Regions from separate parts of the Homo sapiens genome. Here all the other regions are linked to region 3. Evidence: promoter capture Hi-C in 16 types of primary human blood cells and fetal thymus (Javierre and others, 2016). All regions are on one chromosome and are shown on one strand. The core of a region is centred on a gene start or on the middle of the fragment in contact, and the rest is flanking DNA. Distances in the headings are between cores, read along the strand shown.

Region 1 (4,552 bases), core at 1,303-3,802, 850 kb before region 3:
TCTTTCCTCTCACCAACACCATTGCAAAAGGCTTCCTATAAGTGATTTCCAGTTTATAATCTCACCTTGATTCTCTCCAACAAAACCAGAGTGATCACTTTAAAATGGAGAGCTCTTCTTATCACTCCTCTATGTAAATCCCTATAATAGCTCCCTGTTACTTTTAGATTAAGGGCACAGTGCTTAACATGTTATACAAGGTGCTTTTTGGTCTGGCCTGAGCCTACATTTAGAATCCTTTCTCACTATCACCACTCCCTTCCCTACCAAGCTTATTAATAACAAACCATAATAATGATAATCTGTGGCTTGCAGTTCTCCCATAATACCCTGTCCTTTGCACATACGGCAACCACTCCCCACTCTACTCCCAACACACATTTTCCCTGACTTAACCTAGTGTCCTTCAGGACTTTTCCTCGCCTCAAAGGCTGACTTAGAGGCACCTGAGTTGCATCCCGAGGTGGTCCCAAGGATCCCAACCCTAGCCCTGTTCTAGCACTTACCACACTATCATAATCGCCTGTTCATGGGTCTGCATTCCTTCACTGGACTTCATACTCTCTGAGGGTTGGAACTATGTCTTATTCGCCATTGTGTCCATAGCATAGTTCCTAGTACAGTTAATTATGGAATAAAAAAATGCTAAATGGTTACATCTAAAGGTCAAGATCCATTCAAATATTACAGTATGTTGGCATGGACAACATTCCATAGAACCATCTTCAAATACATTGGTAGTAAGGGATTTTATGGAGTTCAGGAGGTAAAAGAATATTCCATGGCTTCCAAGACAATATCACAAGAGACAAGGACTAATCTCAAGACCCCCCAGTCCTGATCACATTAAAGAAGAAAGTAGTGATGGTCATGGAAGCCAGTGAAGGGTAGCACTGAGGCAACACTAGAAGTGTGGCCAGATGGGGACAGGGACAGAAGAGCCACACACCTTCACAACCATTGGGTATAGCATGTGCTAAGGAGAGGACCCAAGAAGTTGGAAGACAAACGAGGGCATCTCTAGGCATTTTTAACTGTAGGTTGGACTCCACACCTAGTCTTCTCTTAACCTTTTGAAGTGTATCTATCAGTGTTCTGGATTTATCCTACTCTCTTCCCAGTGAGGTACTACTGGCATGATCCATGGGAAGGGCATAATTCACAGATGGGGCTTGCCTACCCAGGCTGTAGTCAGCAGTGACATATTTTGTGACAGCTCTGTATAAAAGATGACGCTAACATAAATAAAATGCACTGTATATTATGGGGTAACAAAATTTAAAAGCACTACAGATCTACTCCTCCAGCAGTGAGGAGCCAAGATTTCAGTCTGTGAGAGATGGTGTTCCGAGGCAATGCTAAGAGTCTGCCTAGCAGCTCCTCCCATTCCCAACAGTGTCCCCGCAGTTGAGCTGTCAGCCAGCGCAACACGAAAACTCTCTCAACAAGAGCTAATGAAGAGCTGCCACAGATATTTATGATCTCATATCACACTTCCAGACTGCTGTTTCACTTTTTATTCCACTCATTTTGTTGAAGAGGTTTTTCTTTGTAATCTGTTACAGATCACTGAAAATGATGGATAAGAATCAGCAAGGGGTTGTGTAAGAACCACAGTGCTAGACTTAAATCTAAGTCTGAGTTTTGATTCAATCACTGAATAATTACATTCCTATTGGATACTCAGGGGAACTCAGTTTCCTAATCTTTAAAATGGGCATCTTGTCTTTTTCATTTCTATGGTCCCAACATCTAACACAATGTAATAGTCCTATTGTAAGTAATCCACATTCCTTTCTCTCTCTTTCTTATACACACACATAACACATACACATAAATTTGGCATTTACTTTTCTGAATGCAGGAATGTTTTCTTAAAAAGCTGATAAATTGTTTAACTTACATATCTTATCATGGAATGATACAAGTTCTCTCTATTCCATTATCTCTTCCATGCTGACTTATGAAGACAACCAGGCTTGCTATCAACAGTCAAACCTAGCCTTGCCACCTGCCTTCACCTACCTGGTACCTATCACTGCTAATGATCAGAAAAGCATCATGCTCAGATTAATTAAAGAGTAAGAATCTAGGAGTCATTTGAGTTATCTGGTCTCGGATCAATAGAAATTATAAAACAGACCAAACAGAGAAACCTGTTGAAGCTTGTATAGGTGAGCTTTCTTGGGAAGCAAGTTCTGAGATTTGTGTGCTGGGGGTGGGGTGTTATTAGAGAGTGCTCCTAAGAACTGAGTGGGGAGGGAAGTAGAAAACGGCAGAGGGAGGAGTTTAAGTGCAATGCAGTGGATCCCGCCAGGAGCTCCAAAGTTCAAATGCCTCTTCAGAGTTGTCCTTACTTGAGACAAGAGAGCTGGTCCTTTGTACCTCTACTTAGATCAGTCATTAGAGCCTTGGGAGAGGCATGGATAATTCCTGGGGAGGGACTCAACTGTGAACCATCACTTTTGGTAGCAGAGGGAATGAATTTCTTGGTCCTGGAAGAAGGTTTGAACAGCACACCACAGTATCCACTACAGAAGTGTTGTGTCGGGCCCTGACAGTCAGGGTCTATAGATCCCTGGGTCACTTGGCAGTCAAGCAGCAGTCTCTAATTACCTTTCTTGGCCCATCGCAGAGGTCAGAAGTGGGCTCCCTGTGACCCTGAAGTACTTCCTGACCAGGAAGTAGTCAACAGGCCCCAACAGACTATAGACACGCAGGAGGAGCCATACTTTTGGCTGAAATGTATTGTACACCCACTGCAAAATTGTACTACTTGATTAGAAATAGTAAGCCTTCCTCTACTTTTGAGAGCCATCCAGTTGGGATTCAACCTATGTGGAAGAAGTATCTAACTTCATTGTTCCGAAAGGAGGAAATACTAAGAAATGAAGCTCATTACTAACATCTGATAAACATACTGGAGATGAGACAGAAAGTAAGCTTTTGAAAAGAAACCTATCTATGCAACAGGTTCTCAGGGGAACACAGTGAATCAGCAATGTTAACCTGAAGCCATGGGCCTCTTCCTCAGTCACTCATCAACTCTGTTATGTCAATGCTGAAACAATGCCAGAATACAGAGCTGAACTGTAAAGATCCCTTCCTTAGTGGTTATTCATATTGTTTTCTATCTCTGTTATTATGTGGAGGCTTAAACTATATATATATATATATAATTATATATGTAAATATAAATATATATTTATATATATATAAAATAAATATATATATAATTATATAAATATATATTTATATTTATAAATATAAATATATATTTATATTTATAAATATAAATATATATTTATATTTATAAATATAAATATATATTTATATTTATAAACATTATATTTATATTTATAAACATTATATTTATAAATATAAATATATATTTATATTTATAAACATAAAATATTTATATTTATTTATAAAAATATGTATTTATATTTAAATAACTATAAATATTATAAAATAAATATTTATAAATTTATTTATAAAAATAAATATTTATAAATATAAATATAAATATATATTTATAAATATAAATATATATTTATATATAAATATATATTTATAAATATAAATATAAATATTTATATTTATATATATAATTATATATTATATATAAAATTTGTAAATGGCTAGGGCAATATCCTAATGCAGTCTGCCTTAGAAAAACTTGCACTGTTTTTAAAAAGTACTGGTTACAGTCTTACTTTTTGAGTTGTAATAGATTTAAAACTATTTTAGCACTTCTTGCTAACAATTTAGTCACAAATATTGAGGTAATTAGAAGTATCTTTGGGATCACAAAAGGGAAGGTGTGATTCATGTAGGCAGATGTTAGAAAAACATATTAAAAGGTTAGGATTTGGTATTTGGGGAATGACCTTGGACAGCTGGCTTATCTCTCTGACACTCAGTACTTTCATCTGTTCAAAGGGCATCATAATGCACCATTAGATTCACATTAAAAATCAAACAAGATGCCATGTATAAAGTGACTAGCAGCCAACATGTTCTATACACCTAAGATAGAAGCATGTTTGTTAGTTTCTTCTGCCTTGTCTTCTTCTACATAAACTCATTCAGGAAATTTTTTAAAGGCCATGTGCATGTTTCTATGGCTGAGATCTAAAAAAAAAGAAAAAGAAAAGTATGTCAAGAGGGCTCATGCAAAGAAATTGTGGCTCATGTGCCATAGCCAATGATTAAACCTTAATACAACTTGACAGTTTTAATTTTTATATAAATACCACCAGGGCCTATCATTCACATTATGGATTCCAAGCTTAACAAATGTAATTTAAAAACAACAAAGCTGCTTTTAAAGGAGTACTGTCAAAGCTCTGACATTTTCAAAATTGAAAATGCTCCGTGTATAAGATTTGAAATGGAAAACCCAGCAATTCTTCTCTTTCCCTGACAGAAGTTATCAGGATGGACCCTGGGAATGCCTGGAGATTTTTTAAGTTGAGTTATTGATAGATTGGAACAATTTCTCATGGAATCATACATATTTAGATATGGAATAAGAGCTAGAAATTGCTGA
Region 2 (4,929 bases), core at 849-3,348, 690 kb after region 3:
TGAACCTGGGAGATGGAGGTAGCAGTGTGCTGAGATTGCGCCACTGCACTCCAGCCTGGTGACAGAGAAAGGCTCCATCTCAAAAAAAAAAAAAAAAAAAGAAAGAAAGTGATTTCCTTAGTGATTGCTAGACAATAATTTTTAATAGAAGTCCCTAGGAAAAAGAGTTACTGGAAGAGTCCAGGTATTTATTTTTTCTGATTTTGTGGTATGAGCACTTTAAATGTCATACATAGAGGTAAGGTAGGGTACTCCTCTATTTCTCATTTATTTGTCATAAATGGCAACCTTGTAATTTCTTCATAGGTAAATAATTAGTGGTGAGAATGCTTTTGAAATACCTGGCTTCTTTGGTATCTTACAACTTAGACCCAGACTCCAAATTGCTATGTACTTTTAAAAATGTGCATTTCTTCTGGTTCTTAGATCTGCTGAATTCTTGCTTCTAAAGACAGAAGCCTAGGAAAGGAGGACTTCCTCACCCAGGTCCCTTGGTGGGCCTCTGGCTATTTTCATTATTTACTTTTGGTTTTTCTAAGGCAGGATCTCACTCTGTCGCCCAGGTGGGAGTGCAGTGTCACGATCTTGGCTTACTGCAACCTCTGCCTCCCAGGTTCAAGCAATTCTCATGCCCCAGCCTCTTGAGTAGCTGAGATTACAGGCGCATGCCACCGCACCTGGCTTTATTTTTTTATTATTTTATTTTTTTTTTTTTGTATTTTTAGTAGAGATGGGGTTTTACCATGTTGGCCAGGCTGGTCTCCTCGAACTCCTGGCCTCAAGTGATCCTCCGACCTGGGCCTCCCAAAGTGCTGGGATTACAGGCTTGAGCCACCGTGCCTGGCCAGGATTTAGCTTTTAAATCAAGTTGGGGTGTGGAAGGCAGGCAAGGAGGTAGAGAAAGATGCTGTCCTTAGATTGCCTCTGCATTGCAGGACAACAGTGTTTTACTCTCACGTAAAGCTCTCTAACAGGAATGTGTGGAATCCTAATTTTGTAAATAATTCAGCTTAATGTTTGTTTACTGAAAATGCCTAAATAGAGCTTAGGCAAAAGTGAGACTCCATGTTTGAAATGAGAACAAGCAGGATTATACATATTACTGTTGATGGGAATGGTTTTAAGCCAGTTTCCCATTGTATTTATGTCTTTTAAAATATGCTATTTAGTTTTCATGTAGGGTGGTTTCTGATTTGAACAACAGTTTTAATCAAAATGAACTTAGGTTTGGCAATATGGCACATGCAGCATTTTGACTTATGGAAAATATGGATATTAGTGAAGAATAAGAACTAGTTATTACAGAACTGCTGTAGAAATCTTTAGTTACTGTTAACTTAAAATTAATGGTGCCATACATCTTTTTGCCCCTATATGAATAAATGTGCTATTTGAAGTGGCTGCCTGTATTGGATTTTCTTTAGTGAGGCTGAGGCTTTAAAAAAAAATTATCCTGCACAGATGAGTCTATGCATTTGACTTTTAAAAATGCATTATATTAAGACATCAGTCTTACATGTTAGCACCTATAATGCATTTTTAAAAGTCAGAATAATATTTTATTGCATCTTGGTAAAAATTACCATTTTTGAGTAGTAGGCAGTTGAGACCATTTGTGGGGATATATAACACATAGTACTAAAGCCACAGATTCTAGAACCAGACTGCCTGAGTTCAAAATGCCTGTTATATATAGTAGTAATAACAGTCCCTACCTCATAGGGATGTTGTGAGAGTCAATTAAGTTAATATACATAAAGCACTTAGAATGATGCTTAACACATAGTAAGTGCTGTATAAATGTTTGCAATAATTTTTATTTTCCATTGCATGCCATCAAAACGAGTTCCCTATATTGGTGCTTATTTTTTCTCTAAAAATTGTAGTCAAAGATGAATTCCAAAGTTGGAAACCAATTTGAAGGGGAACTCTTACTACTTTTTATCTGAATTATTGAATAATCCAAAAACCTTCCAATAATTTGATTAAAATTATGTTTAGATTTGGATATTCTCACTCACGTTAGGTGTGATGGCTCTAGTAATGCATAATTCTTAGAAAATATAAAACTAGATTTGAAGGAACTAGAAATGTGTCCACTTTCTCTTGTTCCCCATTTCCACTTATGGTTGAACTAACTGTATTACTTACAAGAATTTACTTATTAAGATAAGTTTGGTTTTTATGGGGGTGCTGTCATACTATTTGAATGTCATCATCTTTGTGAATAATGTGCAGAACATCATTAGAAGATCATACCTGTCCCAAGTTGGGGATTACGTGATACACAATGACTCGGCATCAGCAAGTAAGGATAGTGAGTAGAAGGACTGAGAGGGCACTTACTAGCGTATGCTTTGTGCCAGATGCTGTGGCAGATGTTTTTACGTAATTCCACTTCCAATAGAAAACTTCTCTTCCTTCTCTCACCCAGATGAGCTGGAAGAACTGTGGCTGGCTGATAAGCCACAGTGTCAGCAAGACTAGGAAGAGAATGGTGAAGGAAGCAGCTTGCATTCTGCTTTTTCCTAGGTCTCTCGTGCTGCTCATTTGATGTAAAGCATAATGAAGTCTGACACATTTTAAAATCTGATTTCTCAAAACTGTTATGTAAGATAAAATGTTAAACATAGTAAGATATTTTCAAGTTATGAAACTCATAAAACCAACTTAGAAAATTATTTATAAATTCAAGTTAGAATTGACTTTCTCTTCATTTGTCAAGGAATTAAAATTTACTAGAAATCAAATGCATCATGTATTTGATGATTGTGTGTCGAATACAGATTTTAGAATCTTCCCCCATGCCCCACACCCTTTTTTTTTTTTTTTTTTTTTAATTTAAAGACAGGGTCTTGGTGTGTCACTCAGGCTGGAATATAGTGGTGTGATCACAGCTCACTGCAGCCTCAACCTCCTGGGCTCAAGTGATCCTCCCTCCTCAGCCTCGCGAGTAGCTAGAGCCACAGGCACCATTAGGCCCGGTTGATTTAAAATTTTTTTTTCTAGAGATGGGGGTCTCATCATGTTGCCCAGGCTGATCTTGAATTCCTGGGCTCAAGTGATTCTTCTGCCTCAGCCTCCCAAAGTGCTGGGATTACAGGCGTGAACTCCCAGCTCTTTTATAAAAATTGTCAAACAAGAAGAAAATTACAAAGAATAGTAATATAACCACCTATATTTCTGTATTTCTACTTAGGTTTAAAAGTTGTTAACACTTACTGTGTTTGTGTTAATAGCTATCTGCCTTTCTCTCCATCTAGTTTTTGTTTGTTTAGGTTGATTATTTGAAAGTATTACCCCCATGTGCCCCGAAGATTCTCTTTTTTAAAAAAAAATCAGTTTTATTGAGGTATGATGTTCATATACCATACAATTAAAATTTTTTTATAACTTTTTGAGAATTAGAATTCAATTAAGTCTCACCTATTACATTTGATTCTGTCTTGTTCTCTTTTGTTCTAGACCAATCCCTTGTCTTTTTTTTTCTTTTAAAGACTAGCTTTTTAAAGAGACAAGCCAGTTGTCTTGAAGAATGAATAATGAATCCAGGCCAGTTGTCTTGAAGAATGAATAATGAATCCAGGTTTATGAATTTGTCTGATTACTTCATTATGGTGTCATTTATCTTGTTCTATGCCTTTTTCCTGTAAGCTAGAAGTTAGGACTACGGGCTTGCTGAGATTTAGGTTAAACTTTTTTTGCCATAATTACATCATATGTGTGACAGCTTATACTATGTACTTGCTATTGTAACACATCAGGAGACACATTATCAGAATGTTTCGTGCTAGTGATGCCAGTTTCCACTTGGTTAAAGTGATAATAAATACTTTTTTTTTTTTTATTAAAGGTGCACCCTCCCCACCTCCCAGTTAGAAAGTAATTTCTGGGACAAATAGTTTCACAGGAGCAAGTGTACCTGTCTCCATCTTTTGCCTTTTACCATCAATTAGTGATCCTTGCCTAAAACAGTTAAGTGACTTGAGGTTACAGAATGGTGATTTTCTCATTTGTTTTCTAATTTATTAGCTGACACTTTTCAAGAGATGAATTAAAGTTCCTAAAGATGGGGGTTGTTTCATCCCTTTTAATTATGGTCTTCCAGAGTAAGGAGTTTAATAGTCACCTCCAGTCTCTTCTTTTTTCTTTTGTCTTTTTTTTTTTGAGATGGAGTCTCATTCTTGTCACCCAGGCTGGAGTGCAATGGTGCAATCTCGGCTCGGCTCACTGCAACCTCCACCTCCCGGGTTCAAGTGGTTCTCCTACCTCAGCCTCCTGAGTAGCTGGGATTACAGGCGCCCGCCACGACGCTTAGCTAATTTTTGTATTTTTAGTAGAGATGGGGTTTCACCATGTTGGCCAGGCTAGTCTCAAACTCCTGACCTCAGGTGATCCACCCACCTCAGCCTCCCAAAGTTCTGGGATTACAGACGTGAGCCACTGTGCCCGGCTTGTTTGTCTTTTTAAAATGTCATGGACATAGGGATTTTTATTCAGTGTTTACAGTCAATGAGTGTCATTATACTTTTTGTTGCTTAAGTTTGCAAATGTGGCTGTGAGAACCTGTGTAAACTGGCTCATGTGTCCTTTTGGCATGACCTCATTTTCTTTGAGTGATTCCTTGCATTCTGGGACAGGATGTCCAGCCCAAACCTTGTGCTTTCTGTGTCCCAGACCTAGAATCACCTGTTTCTCCAAAGGGGTCTGATGGGACCAATCTATTTATTTCTAAATTGTTTGTTGAGTTCAGTAGATTTATAGTGTGCATATTCCTTACTAGATGCAGCTTTGTTTTGTTTATATAGCATTTCATAGTTTTGCAAAGCACTTTTACATATGTTTTCTTATGTAAGCTTTTTAGCAAATTTGTGATATCAGGAAGACGTTGGTATCTATTTTTCAGCTGAATTCACAGCTCTGCTAATT
Region 3 (5,137 bases), core at 2,460-4,959:
CATATATAAATTGCTGCATACAATTTCAGTAAGTTCATGGACTCCTTGAAGACTCTATGGAGCTAAAAAAAAATTTTAAATCCCAAATTAAAAAAAATTAATGCTATGTATCTGACCTATTTCCACCTTAAAAATATACATATGTAAAGTTAAAAAGATTAAATAATCCTTCCCCGTTAAAACTGGAAAGGAAGCAAAAGCTCCACTAACTTGTATTCAATCACGGGTGCTCCTGGCAGCTTCTACTTTGTCACCTTTGTTACCATAGGAACTTTCAGGAAGTTTTCTTTCCTCTTTACCATGGTTTGCTCAAAATCAAACCGTGAATGGCTTTAAGAAAAAAAAAGTCTAACCCTAGTTTCCAAATTAGTGATTTAATAAGGCAAGCTCATTTATTATTAAATCTGAAGACCATGCTTCTGATTTTTTTGCTACTTCATTTAATGACTTCATGAGTCATTCAAACTTTTCCTTACATTCTAATTGCTTTCAAAATGTAAACTATTAAAAAGCTGCCTATAGGAAATAAAGTCAGTTTAAAACAAAACAAAAAATTTAGAATCTAATAAGTAATTCATTATAGCTCTTGTCAATATGCATATATTCAAATGCATTAGGCAAACAGTAAGTAGGAAATGAGTCTTATTTAATGTTTATATTAACATACAGTAACTGTTCAATAAAAATTTACTGAACATATAACCTGAATTCCTATAACAGGAATGAGAATGAAGACAACTGAATATTAATTAGAAGCATACTGCTTGACACATAACAGATTTTAAAAAATAATCTGCCAGATGAGCAAACCAATGAATGACTAAATGACTGAACAAAAAACAAAAGAAAAACATAATGACTAAAACTTTTAGACAATCCATATTCCAAATTTTCTGCTACATTAACAAGCCAGACACTCTAGGCTTTTAGCTAAGTAAATGTGAAGTTAAGGAAAAATTATCAAAGACAACGTAAAGGCTTCCAGCTTGACATAAATATGGATGCTAAGAAGCTATAACAAATTTAATGAATTACTTGAACAAAATCATACTGTTTATTGCTTTGATTCTTAATTGTTGAAACAAAAACCTGACTCAAACCTGCCAGTATGCAACTAAGTTCAAGACTAACAAACTCCAAAAAACAAGCAATTCAAAAAAATGCACACCATTTACTATGCAGTTTTCTGGATTTCAATAAAATCAAAATACCTAATAGGAATGAAAATGCAGAAACAAAAGTCCAGAGTCAATATAGTTTATTTTAATGGCTTTTTTTTAAGCAAAGCCACATAATAAAGTTAAAAAAAAAAAAAAAAGAATACCATAGTTGAATACAGAAATTATCCACATTTACCCATTTGGTGCCTAAAAATTGAAACAGCAACGTCCACACTGGAGAAGTTGAAAAAGTCAAGATGGGAGCTAAATAAGTCAGAAAATCCAGACTGGTTAACAAATTTGGGCATCTAACTGCTAGGTTACATATTCCTTGAGATATTATATCTCATTCAGACACATAGGCAACATATAAAAGTGGTTAAGAATTTTGGGGGGGTATACTGGAATCATCCTGCAAATATGATACTTAGGCCAGTTACTTAAACCATCTTTGCTTCTGTGTCACCTTATCTAAAATGCAAAGAATGATACACCTACCTCAAAAGATTTACATGAGATGACACATATTTGTAAAACCTGGCACCTAATTAACTGCTTAGTAGCAGTATTCCCAGTGGGACTGGAATTTATTACTGGGATCAAACATACTTATATAGTAAATATCTGTTCAATTAATGAAGAAGAAAATTCCATTAAGAAATCTGGAATTTTTACATTCCAGATAGTCATACAGATAGTCATACAGATAGACTAGAAAATAAAGATCCAGTTTTCTGGAACATATTCATTCTGACAGAACAGGAATGACTTTAGAATTTCATTCAAAAATACTAAGTGCTACCACTTTGTTATACTCTGGTGCCATAAGAAATGGTGAGTTGTATGACAAGCGAGCCTTTAAAGAGAATTGAAGGAGGTTTCTCTCAGTACCTAACCATGATTTTAAAGGTAAAAGAAGTTGAGAGAATCAATCACATTCTGATGTAGTCACCTACCCTACAAATCAATAGCACCCTAGGAAGAGCAGACCAATCTACATAGGACATTTTGTCTCCCTGACTTAACCAAGATAATGAACAGTGAAACATTAAGACAGGTATCCTTGAGAGGGAACTGTGGGGTGATGGACAAATCCATTATCTTGTTTTGTGTGGTGTTTACATAAGTATATGCAATTGCCAAAACTAATAAAATTAAGCCTGTAAAAATTGTGCATTTCATTCTATGCTAGTTATACCATTAAAAACTGGTTCATTTAAAAAATGCTCCCTACTTTTCTCACTGGAAAATGTAATAATTTACAAATAGTATAATCAAATCTATATTCACTATAAAATTAACTACAGGATGATCAGGTCCAACTAGAAATATTTTGGATAAGGTATTCTTTTAACTTTTCAGTGATAGGTGATGGAAAAGCAATTATCTGAGATCACAGACTACTAGAATTCCTCATGTTCTAATTTTTGCAGAATCTAGGAATGAACACGCACCATTTAGCCACATTTCTTTCACCTGTTGGTCAGAACTTTATGTTTGAGGATTTTCAATGGGAAATTGCTTGTTTGTGTCACTGGTTGTCTTATGTTATGTTTGGAGGAAAAGGGCTTGGGAGAAAAACAGGACAGATAATACAGAGTGTTCAACTAGAAATCCCCAAATCAGGATTCTAGCTCTAGGATTAAAATGTACAGGGCAACTTTGGACACGGTACTTGAATTTTCTGTGCTTGTGATATTCTGCTATCACAAGGCTGTCATAGGATAAAGTGTATTAATTTGTGGAAATACTTTGAAAAGTCAAAGCAATATATTATTCTAACATGATACCATAGACATAGTCAAGCCCCAAACTTAATCCTGACAGTTATAGGTTCTTGGAAAGCCCCCATACATATCTCACTTTAACTTGAATAGAATGTTCAAGAGGGTGGAAACAGGTAGGTTACCCTCTCTCTTTAAAAAAGGGGGTGAGAGGGTGATGTGTTTTCCACGATTGAACTTCCAGAACTCTAGATTTCTGGAATTTATCTTCCAAAAGACTTGGTATAATCTGGTAAATATTGAAAGAGGAGTGGGGAATAAGGCCCGGATTAAGATAAATTCTTCCTGTCCCTAGTGTTGTCAACAATCAATGAGGAGATGAATTGCTCCTGGAGTACAGGAAGCTTGACTTCTAAAATATTGTTAAACAAGCAATCAGAAAACATTTACTGTATTCTTTCACAAATCTTTGGCACACACCCAAGAGCTCCCTCAAACTGCGTGCATCCCAGGAATGAGTGAGAGCAAGGCCTAGATGTCTTCAGATCATCCATCACAGCTCCCTCCCGCCTCCATTCCAGGTCCAGCGGAGCGGCCTCGGGCAATCACACCCTTCCCTGACCTCCCCCTCCCCAGGGCCGCCAGCCTCACCAGCTGTTCCCGGCTGCTGGAGCTCCGATCGGTTGGCGCCCGGCGGCCCCGAACATTAACGACACCCGGGAGCCTGGCCTCGAAGCTCAGGCCCGTGAACAGACTCCAACTACAACAGCACCGGCGACTTCCAAAGAGCAGTTCAGCATTTTGAGATGAGCTTCCGGAAGCCGACAGGCGGCGGAAACCGGATGCCCGGAGCAACCATTAGTTCTCCGCGTTTACTGCTTTCCCCTTCCTATAATCCCCTCTTCCTACTCGCAGTAGAGACAGAGACAAATAAATTAAACTTTTGTGCTACACAGAAATTTCTTAATTCTCTTTTTAGTGCTCTTAAAGTCAAAGCAGCATGAGAGAAAAGAGGAGTGAACAAAAAGTCGAACCCCGGGAGTGAGCTATGGTTTAGCCCAGTTACCATGGAGACCGGTAGTAACACCAGTTGTAAACCCAAGGCCAAGAGACCATGGCCACGTTAGCCCGGCTGCAAGCTAGGTCGTCGACTGTAGGAAATCAGTACTACTTTAGGAACAGGTAAGTCAGGAAGAGAAGGATCGCGTAAAGGGCGGGCGTGACTTTATACCAGTTGTTCCTCAGCGGGAGTTTCCAATTAACGATTTAACGATTACCCTAATTCATTAAGTAGTACCCAATTCTTCCCTTAATGGGCTGCAAACATAATTGGGAGTTTCTGTTACCATACAACGAAATTCTAAATAGAGAGGGGCCGTAGATATTCAGTGTGAGATGATTTAAGGAAACTCCCAGCATAGATAAAATTGTAAAGTGCTTTTTTTCTTCGACATCACCACTCTGCAATTTGATGAAACCTATGTTCAATACCCTGACTGGGGGTCACCCTGACTCACTAGCCCAATGAACTCAGATTGTGTCCCATCTACCTAGGGATTTGAGCCTCCGTTATTTTACAAACATCACTAAACTCAATTGTTCTATGACTCATTCGCCTTTTTAAAATGAACGTATCTGCCGGGTGTGGTGGCTCACGCCTGTAATCCCAGCACTTTGGGAGGCCGAGGGGGGCGAATCACCTGAGGCCAGGAGTTCTAGACCAACCAGGACAACATGGTGAAACCCCGTCTCTATTAAAAATACAAAAACTAGCCGGGCATGGTGGCACATGCCTGTCATCCCAGCTAGTCCGGAGGCTGAGGCAGGAGAATCGCTTGAACCTGGGAGGCAGAGGTTGCAGTGACCCGACATTGTACCACTGCACTCCAGCCTGGGTGACAAATTAAGACCCTGTCTCAATAAATAAATAAATAAATATAAATAAAATAAAATAAAATGAAAGTGTCTAAACCATTCTGACACGGTAACTAGTACCAATATATTAATTAATAGATAACGGGTAAGAAAACCACTAGCAGTCTTCTTCATCTCCCTACAGCCAAACTTCTTGCCCAGGAAGAGTTTCATTTTAAAGAAGCATTGCCCCAGGAGTTTTTGTAACTTAAAAGAAACTGCAAAAAAGTGAATTAGACTATTATGGAATACAGTGACATGACAGACCAATGGAAAATATGTCAATGAGATAGGGTCTTGCTGAGCTGCTTTTATTCTAACGTTTATCTCACCTACTAC
Region 4 (4,845 bases), core at 1,137-3,636, 670 kb after region 3:
TACAATAGTAATTTTGATTTTCATACAGAGCACTGACTCAAATCTAGGATGTGTTTGGTTCTAGGTTCAGTGATCTTGCCGTCTGATCAACTGGCTTGGGTTATGGAATCTTACTTCCTTGGCTTCCTCCTTTCTTTTGTCATTCAAATTCTTGCATTAAGAAACAACTTGAATATCATCTTTGTAAAACTTCCTCTAAGCCATCCCAGATATCTCTGGTCACCCTTTCCTCATTGTTTTTCTTTAAGAACACCTACAAATTCTATTACAATTTGGCTATGTAATTTATTCACCCTACTAAACTCCTGAGTTCTTCAAGGAGAGAAACCTAGATTTAGATTTTTCCTTTGTCCTTTCTTGGCCATCACTCATAAGTGCTCAGTGAATGTTGAGGGACTGTGAGCCTTCTTAAAACTTTATCCCAGGCTAAGGAAAATGGCTCACTTTCCTGCCAGCAGCTAACCATTCGTATCTGGGGTCAGGGAACAGATGGCAAGTTTGAAAGGGAGCTGGAGGTTTGGGGGAAAAGGCAGCAGGAGATAAGAAATGCGTTATGACTACCTCAGTACGTCGGAGGTTTAGCCCTGCTCTGTTCAATATGGTAGCCTCTAGCCACATGTGATTTAAATTTAAGGTAATTAAAGAAAATAAAAATTCAGTTCTTCAGTTGTGCTAGCCACATTTGAAATACTCAATAGGCTCTTGTGGCTAGTGGCTACTGAGCAGCTTTAATAGAGAACACTGCCATGATTGGAACTTTTAGTCATTACTTCAATAAGCATCCTTTGTAGTCCTTTAAGTTCCAGATTTTTATAGTAGAATGCAAAATTAATGTTTAAGGCAACACACAGGACTTCAAAGGCATTTTTTACTTGTCTGGTGATTTCCGTCTATGCCCTTAGACACCTGGATATATCTGCTTCTGCTGTTATAAATCAGTGAGTGGAAAATTTTTTTAAAAACCTCATTTGATTAGGATATAATAATATTTTGAGCCAGTTCTATTTTCTGGTTTGCATAGTGATAATCTTTGATATCCTAGAAGTAAATCCTATTTTTTTAGTATGCTGGGAGACTTCATTACTTTGGCATTTTTAATTTGTTCATATTAAATGTCATCATTTTCATTGTCAGTGAATGCCTGATTAAAAACTTCTGAGATAGAGCTTCTTTAAGAAAATAATAAAATAAAACCATGACTTAAGGGAATTCTTCTGGATATTTTTTTAATTGGTGGGGTGAGTGCAGGTTGTATAAAATGGTGCTATAAACTTTTCATGGATTTATTGTGTGTTCATATTATGCATGTTGTGGTAGTCAAGCGGGGTAAGAAATGCACCAAAGAAAAATAGCCATGGTTTTGAAGTGGAGAATTGGTGTGGGTTACACCATCAGAAAGTGTTTCGGCTTGCTTTGGCTGCCTTTACAGTACCATTGAAAAACATGAAATCTGTGGCAATTTGTGTGTGAATACATCAGGACAAAACACTAGATGTCAGTGTTGCAGTTCTGACATGTTACCAGGAGCTAGTCAAGATTTTTCTGCTTTTAATCACCAAGATATTTTTTTATTGACCCAAACTTTTAAGCCATCTTGCCTCCTTACATTTAGTTAAATACTTACTACAGGAAGCACTTTTTCTAAGAATTGTTTATTTTGTTATTAGTGTCTGTGTAATGCTACTGACTCTGAAGAGTAAAACATATACAGTATTAAAATAATACAGTTTTCAGCTAACTATATTCTTCAAACTTTGTTTTCCAGTGTACTTTCCTGGGTACACTGGTCCTAGGAGATGCCTCTTGGGGAAACATTTTGTGGCCCTGGAATAAAATAATTCAGTCTTTTATTGAATTTGTTAATAGTGCTGCCAGCTTTTAATTTAGATACCTTTTTTTTTAGTGTTATGGGCAATAATAAGGTTCTTATATATTAACTATATTTGTATGTTAAAGCCTAGAGTCACAAATGTGTTCAGATTTCTTAAATTGACCCAGCGTATAAGATACAGAAAAAACTTCAAATTAAATGTTTTCATTAATTTTTTTGTCTTTATTAAGAAATATGCAGCTCTATTAGCATGATAGAATTGCAAGTGATTTCTTGTCTTTATAACATTTTCTTTTATACTGTTGGCATTTCGTGTTTTAAGATCATGCTTTTAAAAAATGTGAAATGTTATTGTTCTTTGCTATGTAATGTTCAGTTAGTTTTTTGAAGATACTTTATTTTTACTCATGCTCGAGGTTCATTTTTATATAGGCATGTTTTTATTTCCTACTTTCTAATTTGTTATTAATTTTTACTTGAAACGTATTAATGTTTTACATCATTTTTTGTTTCATGAATTTTCAGCACTGAAAAAATAAAGGTATTACGCAAAAATAATGCCCAAATTGCAAGTATTGTAATCACTTGCTAAAAGTCAGGTCTTTTTATGGCTTAAAGTCAAGAGAGTAGAGGGGATCACTCAGAAGGTAATACCTGACTATACACTGTCTTCCATTTACTTTGGTCATAACAATAAGCTGATATAAAAAGGCTAAGAGGATGTTTAAAGGCAAATTATGAACATTTTGTTGAAATTATTTAAAGAAGAAACTGAGCCTCGGAGTTGAAGAATAGATAATTTTGAAGCAACAACAAGACTCAATCAATAGACTTCTCAGAAGGTAGAAACAGCGGTTATGGTTCTGATGCTTGGCTTTGGTAAGGGTAAATGGACCCAGAGCAGCCTCACTGAAATGCTGCAGTGCTTTTGGCATATGGATTGCTTTCTAATCCTCTGCATTTAAGTGAAGGTTCTGATCCGGGTGGGTGGAACAGAATTGAGTAAAGTAAGGAGCAGCAGGAAACCTGCTTATGCCTTGGCCTTTTTCTTCTAGTGTTAAATAGTATTTTATCTTAATGCAAGTATATCAATATTTAAAAAAATACTTAAACTACTAATATTGTTACATTTGTAGAGGTACTTTGATAGGAAAAGTTTCAGCTAATGGCATTTTCTGTAATAATCTTTTGAGATTCAACTAGTTTTGGAGTCATCCAAAGAAAGTGCAGTTGTTTACCCAAAGACATCACTGCTAAATGGCAGCTGTTTGTATATTACTGAGTTTTCTTTCTTGTTGACTTCTCAGCCTTCTTTGTTAGCTCTTCTTCTGCTAATTAAAAAACACTCCAAGTTACTAAGCTATTGGATGATTGTCTTCTTCCAAGTATTTCCTAATAAGTTCTGCAGGTTTCTGAAGAACAGAAGCTCTCCAGAGGGCTCTGGATCATAGAGATGCATGCATGCAATGCTGGGTGCTTGTGCTCTCCTTGTTAAAGTGCACTTAATTTAAGAAGGTGAAAAAGAGCTGCTCAGCAAGTTGATTTGCAAGACAAGCCGCCTTCTGGACTATTGTTTCTGCTAATCTTCCTCATCCATTTGAATTTTAAATGATGAACTAGTTTGCTGGTAACCTGTAGGTGCTTTTTTTGGTGGTTCTCATGATAAAATTCAATGGTACACTTACACATTTGTATCTTCAATCAGAACTTGGTATTTTCATTCAGTCACTCAGTCCTACAATTGAATCTAGTATCTTGGGCACGTTGTTAGATAATTTTTTTTTCCAAAAATGTTAAAATGCCCAATTTTCTAATGTTATATGCAAATTCTTTTACATGAGGCTGATTTTTAGTTTTAGGCTTTTTTTCTGCATACAAATTCAGAATTTTAAATATCTGGGACAAATCCCTTAGAAGATTTATTCTGATAATACTGTACCTTTTTCTTATTAAAGTTTTCTGTTATTTGTTTTAATAACCTTCATTAGCCCCTTCCATTAGTTTAGTGACACAATTAAGGTTTGTGTACTTGAATATACCTTGCACCAACTCCATGCCAACATCTGTCACCATTTTGACAATAAGGACGTGGCAGAGGCTGTTGGATTTGTTTCTGCTGCCTGGGTCCTGGGTTTGGAAGCTGCTGTGACATCCCCTGTATATGTGGCTGGGCGAGGTCTCTGGGAGCTGATGGCAATGGGATAGATGGTCCTATTGCTCTTCATCATTACTGTAGCTGTGGGACTCAGAAAAGTACCCCCCTTGCAAAAATGGGGACAGGCAGAGCTCCAGGAAGGGTTCGGGGGGCCTTGGCAGCCTCTGCCTAGGATATTAAAGTTTAATTTGCCTTTACTCTTTGGTTCTATAGGAAGCTGTGGATCGGAAAAGGACCACTTTTATTCTGATGATGACGCAATAGAAGCTGACAGTGAGGGTGATGCTGAGCCCTGTGACAAAGAAAATGAAAATGATGGAGAATCAAGTGTTGGGACTAATATGGGCTGGGCAGATGCTATGGCTAAAGTCCTCAACAAGAAAACTCCTGAAAGTAAACCTACTATTCTGGTCAAAAATAAGAAGCTGGAAAAGGAAAAAGAAAAGTTAAAGCAAGAAAGACTAGAGAAAATAAAACAGGTATGTTCCACCAGTTCTCTTGTAGATTAGATTGTTTGTCTAGGCTAGCTCTTATCTTGACCGAACTGTTTCTTGCAGTGTTTGACCAATTAACGTTCCAGTTTTTAACTTGTTTTTTATGTGAAGGTGGATAACTAAGGTTATGTTTAGGAATTTAGTCTAAATTATTCCATTGAGCATGTTCACTTTTTAATCATCTATGCAAAGGCAAAGTAATAGAAATGTAAACGCTGAGGAAACATCTTTTTAAAATCAAGTAATTATACACATGGTAGTGATTCCTGAGCCTATTTTATTTGTTTTAGCTGTCTGTTTGCTGACTTTATTAGGTTGTGAACTAAGAAGCATGTTAGTTACTTTTTTTTTTTGCCAAAACTTAT

Evidence for each region. The method cuts DNA at HindIII sites, captures the fragments that hold promoters and counts their contacts. A CHiCAGO score of 5 or more calls a contact.
Region 1: a fragment that was not itself captured here is called in contact with the fragment with the promoter of GPATCH2 in region 3 in 1 of 17 cell types (fetal thymus); the score reaches 8.8 in fetal thymus.
Region 2: a contact is called between a fragment that was not itself captured here and the fragment with the promoter of GPATCH2 in region 3, in 1 of 17 cell types (naive CD8 T cells). The highest score is 5.2, in naive CD8 T cells.
Region 4: a contact is called between a fragment that was not itself captured here and the fragment with the promoter of GPATCH2 in region 3, in 1 of 17 cell types (activated CD4 T cells). The highest score is 6.7, in activated CD4 T cells.

The regions. Positions count from the first base shown.
Region 1 is chr1:216,775,941-216,780,492 of GRCh38, forward strand. It overlaps a transcript of ESRRG not described here. Among named protein-coding and RNA genes, the nearest start is that of ESRRG, 55 kb to the left of the region's middle. The HindIII fragment of the contact is 778 bases long and covers 2,164-2,941 here.
Region 2 is chr1:218,314,910-218,319,838 of GRCh38, forward strand. All of the region lies in intron 4 of RRP15 (ribosomal RNA processing 15 homolog), which reads left to right. Among named protein-coding and RNA genes, the nearest start is that of TGFB2, 28 kb to the right of the region's middle. The HindIII fragment of the contact is 5,511 bases long and covers 1-4,854 here.
Region 3 is chr1:217,627,381-217,632,517 of GRCh38, forward strand. It overlaps GPATCH2 (G-patch domain containing 2), which reads right to left and starts at 3,710. Exons shown (of 10, transcript NM_018040.5): 1 at 3,536-3,710. The coding sequence starts at 3,591. It overlaps SPATA17 (spermatogenesis associated 17), which reads left to right and starts at 3,964. Exons shown (of 11, transcript NM_138796.4): 1 at 3,964-4,066. The coding sequence starts at 3,999. RefSeq lists enhancers at 3,649-3,718, 3,749-3,988. The HindIII fragment of the contact is 9,292 bases long and covers 3,287-5,137 here.
Region 4 is chr1:218,298,095-218,302,939 of GRCh38, forward strand. RRP15 (ribosomal RNA processing 15 homolog) reads left to right here. Exons shown (of 5, transcript NM_016052.4): 2 at 4,200-4,465. Among named protein-coding and RNA genes, the nearest start is that of RRP15, 15 kb to the left of the region's middle. The HindIII fragment of the contact is 6,442 bases long and covers 1-4,845 here.